Linked DNA regions of Homo sapiens: all the other regions are linked to region 1. The links are contacts of gene promoters, found by promoter capture Hi-C in blood cells and fetal thymus (Javierre and others, 2016). All regions are on one chromosome and are shown on one strand. The core of a region is centred on a gene start or on the middle of the fragment in contact, and the rest is flanking DNA. Distances in the headings are between cores, read along the strand shown.

Evidence for each region. The method cuts DNA at HindIII sites, captures the fragments that hold promoters and counts their contacts. A CHiCAGO score of 5 or more calls a contact.
Region 2: a fragment that was not itself captured here is called in contact with the fragment with the promoter of MC4R in region 1 in 1 of 17 cell types (fetal thymus); the score reaches 5.4 in fetal thymus.
Region 3: a contact is called between a fragment that was not itself captured here and the fragment with the promoter of MC4R in region 1, in 1 of 17 cell types (fetal thymus). The highest score is 5.2, in fetal thymus.

Annotation. Positions count from the first base shown.
Region 1 is chr18:60,371,442-60,374,052 of GRCh38, forward strand. MC4R (melanocortin 4 receptor) reads right to left here and starts at 1,334. Exons shown (of 1, transcript NM_005912.3): 1 at 1-1,334. The coding sequence starts at 908. The HindIII fragment of the contact is 4,351 bases long and covers 1,298-2,611 here.
Region 2 is chr18:60,133,744-60,136,354 of GRCh38, forward strand. All of the region lies in intron 2 of LINC03111 (long intergenic non-protein coding RNA 3111), which reads left to right. Among named protein-coding and RNA genes, the nearest start is that of LINC03111, 10 kb to the left of the region's middle. The HindIII fragment of the contact is 9,080 bases long and covers 1-2,611 here.
Region 3 is chr18:60,152,022-60,154,632 of GRCh38, forward strand. All of the region lies in intron 2 of LINC03111 (long intergenic non-protein coding RNA 3111), which reads left to right. Among named protein-coding and RNA genes, the nearest start is that of LINC03111, 28 kb to the left of the region's middle. The HindIII fragment of the contact is 4,802 bases long and covers 1-2,611 here.

The DNA.
Region 1 (2,611 bases), core at 84-2,583:
GCATAAATCAGAGGATCGATGATTGAATTACACATGATCAGTATGAGATACAAGTTAAAGTGAGACATGAAGCACACACAATATGGATTCTGAGGACAAGAGATGTAGAATATTAAGTGGAGGAAGAATGGGGCCCAGCAGACAACAAAGACGCCAATCAGGATGGTCAAGGTAATCGCTCCCTTCATATTGGCACCTTGGCGGATGGCACCAGTGCCGGGGAGGACAGCAATCCTCTTAATGTGAAGCCTGGCCATCAGGAACATGTGGACATAGAGAGAAGCCATGAGAGCCAGCATGGTGAAGAACATGGTGATGAGGCAGATGATGACAGCACTACTATCTGAGTAAATGATGAACAAAATGCCTGAAACCGTGCAAGCTGCCCAGATACAACTTATGATGATCCCAACCCGCTTAACTGTCATAATGTTATGGTACTGGAGAGCATAGAAGATAGTAAAGTACCTGTCCACTGCAATTGAAAGCAGGCTGCAAATGGATGCAAGCAAGGAGCTACAGATCACCGAGTCAATGACATTATCAATATTCACTGTGAAACTCTGTGCATCCGTATCTGTACTGTTTAATAGGGTGATGACAATGGTTTCTGATCCATTTGAAACGCTCACCAGCATATCAGCCACAGCCAAGCTGCAGATGAAAAAGTACATGGGTGAATGCAGATTCTTGTTCTTGGCTATTGCCACAATCACTAAGATATTCTCCAACAAGCTGATGACACCCAGAGTCACAAACACCTCAGGAGAGACAAAAAGTTGCTCGTAGCACCCTCCATCAGAGTAGCCTTTTCCAAGGGACTCACTGGCATTGCTGTGCAGTCTGTAACTGCTGCGGTTCCAGAGGTGCAGAGAAGTGTGCATCCCACGGTGGGTGGAGTTCACCATGCTGGCAGGAGAATTCCAGTGTCCCCCTGAATTGATTTAACCTCCTGGGTCAGGGAGTCGTCTCAGTTATTTCCTCCAAGTCTTTATCTGTCTGAAAGTTGTGAGGCTAAAATTGCCATGCCTGCTGTGAGTAAATGTCACAAGTCCAGAGCTTGACATGGAGTTTTTAGTCTCTTTTAGGTACGACTCTAATCATCATCACTTTAAAATCTTGGGCTTCAAAATATTCATTCTCAGTTGAAAGAGTCTGCTCTTTGCTTTCTTGTTCTCACTTCTGCTTTAACTTTAATCTTATGCATTCAAGTCTGTTCAAAATAATTTTCCTTGAAGCTGCCATGCCATTGGGAGACGAATCTGTGCGCACATGCTCACATCGGCTGCCTCTCGGAAGCTTCTGTTTCCAGCCTGAGCGTTGCTTTGAGTGTTAGGGGCTGTAGGCGCCAGCTGCTGATTTTTATGATGTGTGGAGAGAAAAAAAACATGTTCACGGTGGCTCCTCCTCTGCTTCCTTCTGACCAATCCCAATGCAATGGGAGTCTGTGAGACAGGATTATGTTTCAGAGACACAAATTGCAGGGTGACACAGATTCAGATGCAGAAGCTCCTGAAGTCTGAAGTCGAGAAGCAAGCCGGATAAGAGACTGAATTTCCCTTTTTAAGTTTTCAAGGGAAACAACTTGATCCCTAGAGGCCATTCTGTGATATCAAAACAAGCTATCTTCAGGCAGCCAGGTTCATTCTTATGTAAAAGACATCATGTGTGTGTGTAAAATGAAATGGAAAGTATACTGTCTTATGTTCCTGAAACAGATACTCTGCTTTTTGGCTAGGATACTGAATTTATTTACCTTCTTAATTTTTTGTTTTTATTAAGAACCCAGCCAGTAGTGGTTCAGTTAAAATACCTGAAAAACAGAGAGGATATTTAATGATACAGATAGACATGGTATGGCTGGAAGAACTATGTAGGTAGCTATAAATTATGAATGGGTTCAAAAGGGGTTGATTTTAATGCACTAATATCCCATATTTCTCTATTGAGGAGTTTGTGTTATAGCTGAAAAAAGGTGCTTTTTATTTACAATATTTTAAACTCATACGGCATTAATGTAACTATGCTTACACTGAACTCAGGAAAATAATAAGCTGCATTCTGTTTTTTTTTTTTAAGCAACTTTTTTTTAAACCTCCAGAGTTTAACGTATCGTAAGTTGAACCGACAAATACCTAGTAACTTTACTTATCAAGCCAAGACTGGTGATACTAGTTAGTTATTGAAGTTTCTGAATATTTTGCTTAAGGTGGTTTGAAAGATGGCAGCAAAGTTACTTTCCAAATTAACTGAACAACAGATTATACAAAATTTTGTATATTCTTTTCTTCTATGATTATTTTTGGTTTTAGTGCTCTATAGTTTGTAGCTGCTTATTTCAGGGTTAATTCTGAATCTCAGTTACTTAGGTTGGGAATGTATCCTCTTTCCTTTTGTGACAGAGACAATACTAAGTATTGTTCCTGAGCATTGAGATAAATTAACGTCTTCCATCCACCTTTGGAATTGGGTAGGACCTTATGACTAAATTCTAGCTAATGGCATGTTGACAGTGGGGCTCATCGCATTAGCTCTTTCATAATTTTACACAAGTTTTCTCTCCTGTCTTTGAAATCTCATGTTACAGGTGGCAGGACCATATCATGAAAGG
Region 2 (2,611 bases), core at 34-2,533, 240 kb before region 1:
CATTAATCAGCCTCTCATCCCACCTCCCTAGTACCCTTCCAGGCTCTGGTAATCACTGATCTACTCTCTATCTTCATGAGATTCACTTTTTTTTTTAGCTCCCACATGTGAGTGAGAATGTGATATTTGACTTTCTGTGCTTGGCTTGACAGTGTGGTGATTCCTCAAGGATCTAGAACTAGAAATACCATTTGACCCAGCCATCCCATTATTGGGTATATATACCCAAAGGATTATAAATCATTCTACTATAAAGACACATGCACACGTATGTTTGTTGCTGCACTATTCACAATAGCAAAGAGTTGGAACCAACTCAAATGTCCATCAATGATAGACTGGATTAAGAAAATGTGGCACATATACATCATGGAATACTATGCAGCCATAAAAAAGGATGAGTTCATGTCCTTTGTAGGGACATAGATGAAGCTGGAAACCATCATTCTGAGCAAACTATCGCAAGGACAGAAAACCAAACACCGCATGTTCTCACTTATAGGTGGGAATTGAACAATGAGAACACTTGGACACAGGGTGGGGAACTTCACACACCAGGGCCTGTCATGGGGTGGTGGGAGCGGGGAGGGATAGCATTAGGAGAAATACCTAATATAAATGATGAGTTAATGGGTACAGCACACCAACATGGCACATGTATACATATGTAACAAAGCTGCATGTTGTGCACATGTACCCTAGAACTGAAAGTATAAAAAAAAAAAAAAAAAAACAATTACTCCAGTTCCCTCCTAACACAAAAACAAAAACAAAAACAAAAACAAAAACCATGCACCTTGATCCAATTACTTTTAGTCACTTTCTACTGAAACATTTGAGTAGATTTTGGTTTCCTAAAAATTATTTTACAGTATCCAAGGGGAAGTATCTCTTCTTCATCATAGCACAGGGCCCTAAGTTGTTGTTTTTTTCAGCATGTGACTATCTTTAGAAAGCCCTCAATTCTCATGGAAACCATTCATAATACAAGGATACTCATGGGCCCAGACAAATTAGTATAGAAAAGTGCCTTACCCTTCACTACAGAACAAGTTAGGAAGGTCAACTGTGGGCAGATGTGCAGGGTCTTGAATTAATGCTTCAGAAGCATAACTAAAATTTTACTTTTCTTTCCTGTATCATCCAAACCAGTGATATAACCCTTCTGAGACTCATGATAGACAAAACAGTTCTCGTGTACCAGATTGCTTTGTATGGGACCATATGTCTAAATCCTTAACCAAAAGTCTGAGATTTAAGAAAAACATAATCCCCAGACACAGTTATTAGGTATTCCAAATCCTGTTAGGCTGTGAGTTTAACTGCTTATGCAAAGTGGATTTGGTCCCTCATACACTGTAGCATTGACATTGGAGAAAAAGAGGCACAACCAGGAGGTGGAACAATAATGTGTTAATTTAATGTTCCACCAAGTTGTTGAGGGGTCAGTGATCTGAATAAACAATGAAGCAAGTTTATAAAATTAACTATGGTACTCCAAAGAACAGATATTTTAAGTGTTTTGTTCAGTTTATTTTTCACAAATGTTATTAAATTTTTATTTTAGTGCATGCATATGTTACGTATCAGAGCTCATAGTTGAACAAAGGAGGGAATAAATTAGCAATTTGGGGAATGTTGAAAATTAGAATGTTGGGTCTTGGCTGGGCGCGGTGGCTCTCTTATGAACTTGAATACAGGTTCATAAAAGTAAAAGGGAAAACTGTGCCTGGGAGAGGCACCAGAGAAGAGAGGAGTCTGATAGTCTGGAGATGAAGTTCTCTGAGAACTCCCACTGCAATTAGGTAAGAATCCACTCTCATGACCATGGTTTCTCAAACTGCTCAAAGTGCTGGTGCAATCCCAGCACTTTGGGAGGCAGAGTCGGGCAGATTACTTGAGGTCAAAAGTTCGAGACCAGGCTGGCCAACATGGTGAAACCCTGTCTCTACTAAAAATACAGAAATTAACTGGGTGTGGTGATGCGCACCTGTAATCCCAGCTACTGGGGAAGCTGAGGCAGGAGAATCGCTTGAACCTGGAGGTGGAGGTTGCAGTGAGCCGAGATTGTGCCACTGCACTCCAGCCTGGGGTGACAGAGCGAGACTCTGTCTTTAAAAAAAAAAAAAAGTTGGGTCTACAGAACGTCATTAAACTCAGTTTGCAAAGTAGAGCCCAGGATATAAAGAGAAAAATTAAGATAGGAGAGCACAACTTGAATACAGGTTCATAAAATTACAAGGGAAAACTGTGCTGGGAGAGGCAACAGAGAAGAGAGGAGTCTGAGAGTCCGGAGATGAAGTTCTCTGAGAACTCCCACTGCAATTAGGTAAGAATCCACTCTCATGACCATGGTTTCTCAAACTGCTAGGTGCTGCCCCCTCTCTGGAATCTTGTACTTTCTAGTTCACCATTCCCAGCTATATCAGCAGCTATTTTTTTTCTTATTTGACACCTCCCTCAGCTTTTCATCCTTGCTGTCCCATTTTTTTCCTTGGGGGTGGGGAATGCTCTCCCTGAATCCTCACATGAATGGCTCCTTCTTGCCACTTTTATCTTCCTTCAAATATTACTTGTTCCAACCCATGTTCCATGACCACCTGCCTAAGGT
Region 3 (2,611 bases), core at 41-2,540, 220 kb before region 1:
TCTATGTTCATTTTAATTCTGGCCTAATGGTCTGATTTGCTGCTATCTCTGAGAACATTATTATAGAAATTTATACTGTTGATTGTTGAAAGACGCTACATCTAAAATTTAAAAACCAAAGAATCTGGCTTCAAACCTGAAGTTAAGGCACAGGGAGGAGTCTGTTTGTATATTCTAATCTGTTCTTCTGACACGCTTTGTTCTTTTTCTGTGGAAGCTCAACAACAGATATGTGCAGAGCTTATTAGTTTGTTGTGTTTCAGCTCAAATCTTTCCTGGAATCATTAATCTTAAACTTGACCATGATAGATACTTCAGGCTGTATGCTTCAACTGCCTTTGTCAAAATAGGCATTTGCATTATAATAGGAAAGTATATGAAATTGCCCTGTTTGTTAGACATTTTGCACCGTCTGATTTTTTTTTCCAGAAGTAGCACTGTGGCTTCTGTTCAGAGCAGGTATGTTTACTCTATTTATGTTTAAATAGCATTGCTTAGGCCTTGAGTATGTTGGGTTAGCAGGTAGAATGCTCCACTGCAAGTAACAGAATAGCTGACTGAAATAGAATTAAATGATATGGCTTGATTCTTTTTTCATGTAACAAAAAGTCCAGAAGTTAGTGTGTTCCAGTTTGTTTTAGGCATTCAATAATAATACACAAGACCCAATTTCCTTCCATCTGTAAGCTCTGTCATCCTCAATATGTCAGTGATGTCATGTCTATATCTACGGACTCAAGATAGTTGTAAAAGATTGTAGGATCATGTCCTCATAACACTCTTTTGAAGTCAGGAGAAAGGGCAGGGTTAAAAGCGATGCAGTGGAAAATTTCAGCAAAGAGTGCTCCTCATGTTGGTTTCTTTTTATTCCTAGTTGAATAAAAGCAAGCAAAACAACTATCAGCCATTTTAGCCTGTCTCTAGAATCTGGCCCTTCCTATACGGAGGAAGGGTGGCGGGCATAGCTGTGGGATAGTGAGCCAGTGCTGCCTTGCTCTCGGGCAGTTGCCCCACTATCTCTGGTGCTATCCTTCCTCTTCTTGGTGTTTCCCATAAGGAGACCCAGGCCACAAATCCCCGCCTACCATCTGGAGGAGAAAAGGACATGTCCCAGAAAAACTTTCGGCCCACTTTCCATAGATAAAGCAAGACCATATATGAAACTCATTCTCTCTGCTATGTTCAGTAATCTTAGAGAAGAAACTTAGGTTTTTGTGTCTTCTAAAATGCTATAAGATTTGTCATTGTTTACTAATAGCTACCTTCTTCTTGAAAGCCAGTTGAGGAGAGTTTTGGGGCAACATTTTCTGTTGGTTTTCTTCTGATTTCTTTTGTTATTTCTTCCAGCTTTTTCCTCCTATATGTCTGGGGTTCACTGGGTTCCTGACATACATCTCTTTGCATGCTACTCCTCTTCATTGTGCAATCTTATGTGCTCCTTTGGCAGCAAGTATAGCCTAAATGAGTTGATGACTTCCAAGCCTGGATCTCCAGCTTGCATTTCTTTATTGCGCTCCAGTTCCATACACCCAGTTATTACTGCATAAACATTTTTATTGGCTGTCTCGTTGGTATTTTGAACTCAGATATTACAGACTGAATTAAACTTTTTTCCTCTTTGCACTGACCCCTCCCCTGGCTTGCTTCACTTCCTTCATTTCTGTATCACTGAATGGCCCCTCAGATATACCCGGTGGTCCAAGTCCTCTTTCTCTTCTCTTGAATCCAACCTCCCCCAAAATCCTGTTGACTGTGCCTCCTAGATATTTTTGTAATCAGTCTCCTTTTGTCCACTTCTACTGACACTGCCTGAGTTCAGTCGCTTCTCTTGTTTTACCTTGATTATTCATTGCAGACCCTCATAACAGCTGTCAGCATCCCTCCTTTCTGACCCACAGCTTTCCTTTCTGTAACCCCAAATCAGGCTGATTGTACTTGAAACTCACATCTGAATAAAAGATTTCCCTGTTTAAAATCTTTAGATAGCTTCACATAACCTTCAGGATAAAAATCCAGACTCATAACATGTCAACATGAGATCTTCAGTGGACTTTAACATTTTTTGGTTCACAGACATCTTTTTTTTATTGAAGTGTTTTTTTTTTTTTAATTTTTGGTTTTTTATTTTACTTTAAGTTCTGGGATACATGTGCAGAATGTGCAGGTTTGTTACATAGGTATACATGTGCCGTGGTGGTTTGCTGCACCTATCAACCCGTCATTTAGGTTTTAAGCCCCGCATGCGTTAGGTATTTGTCCTAATGCTCTCCCTCCCCTTGCCCCCAACTCTCCAACAGGCCCCAGTGTATGATGTTCCCCTCCCTGTGTCCATGTGTTCTCATTGTTAAACTCCCACTTATAAGTGAGAATATGCAGTGTTTGGGTTTGTGTTCCTGTGTTAGTTTGCTGAGAACGATGGCTTCCAGCTTCATCAATCTCCCTGCAAACGACATGAACTCATTCTTTTTTATGGCTGCATAGTATTCCATGGTGTATATGTGCCACATTTTATTCATCCAGTCTATCATTGTTGGATATTTGGGTTGGTTCCACATCTTTGCTATTGTAAATGGTGCTGCAATAAACATGTGTGCATGTGTCTTTATAGTAG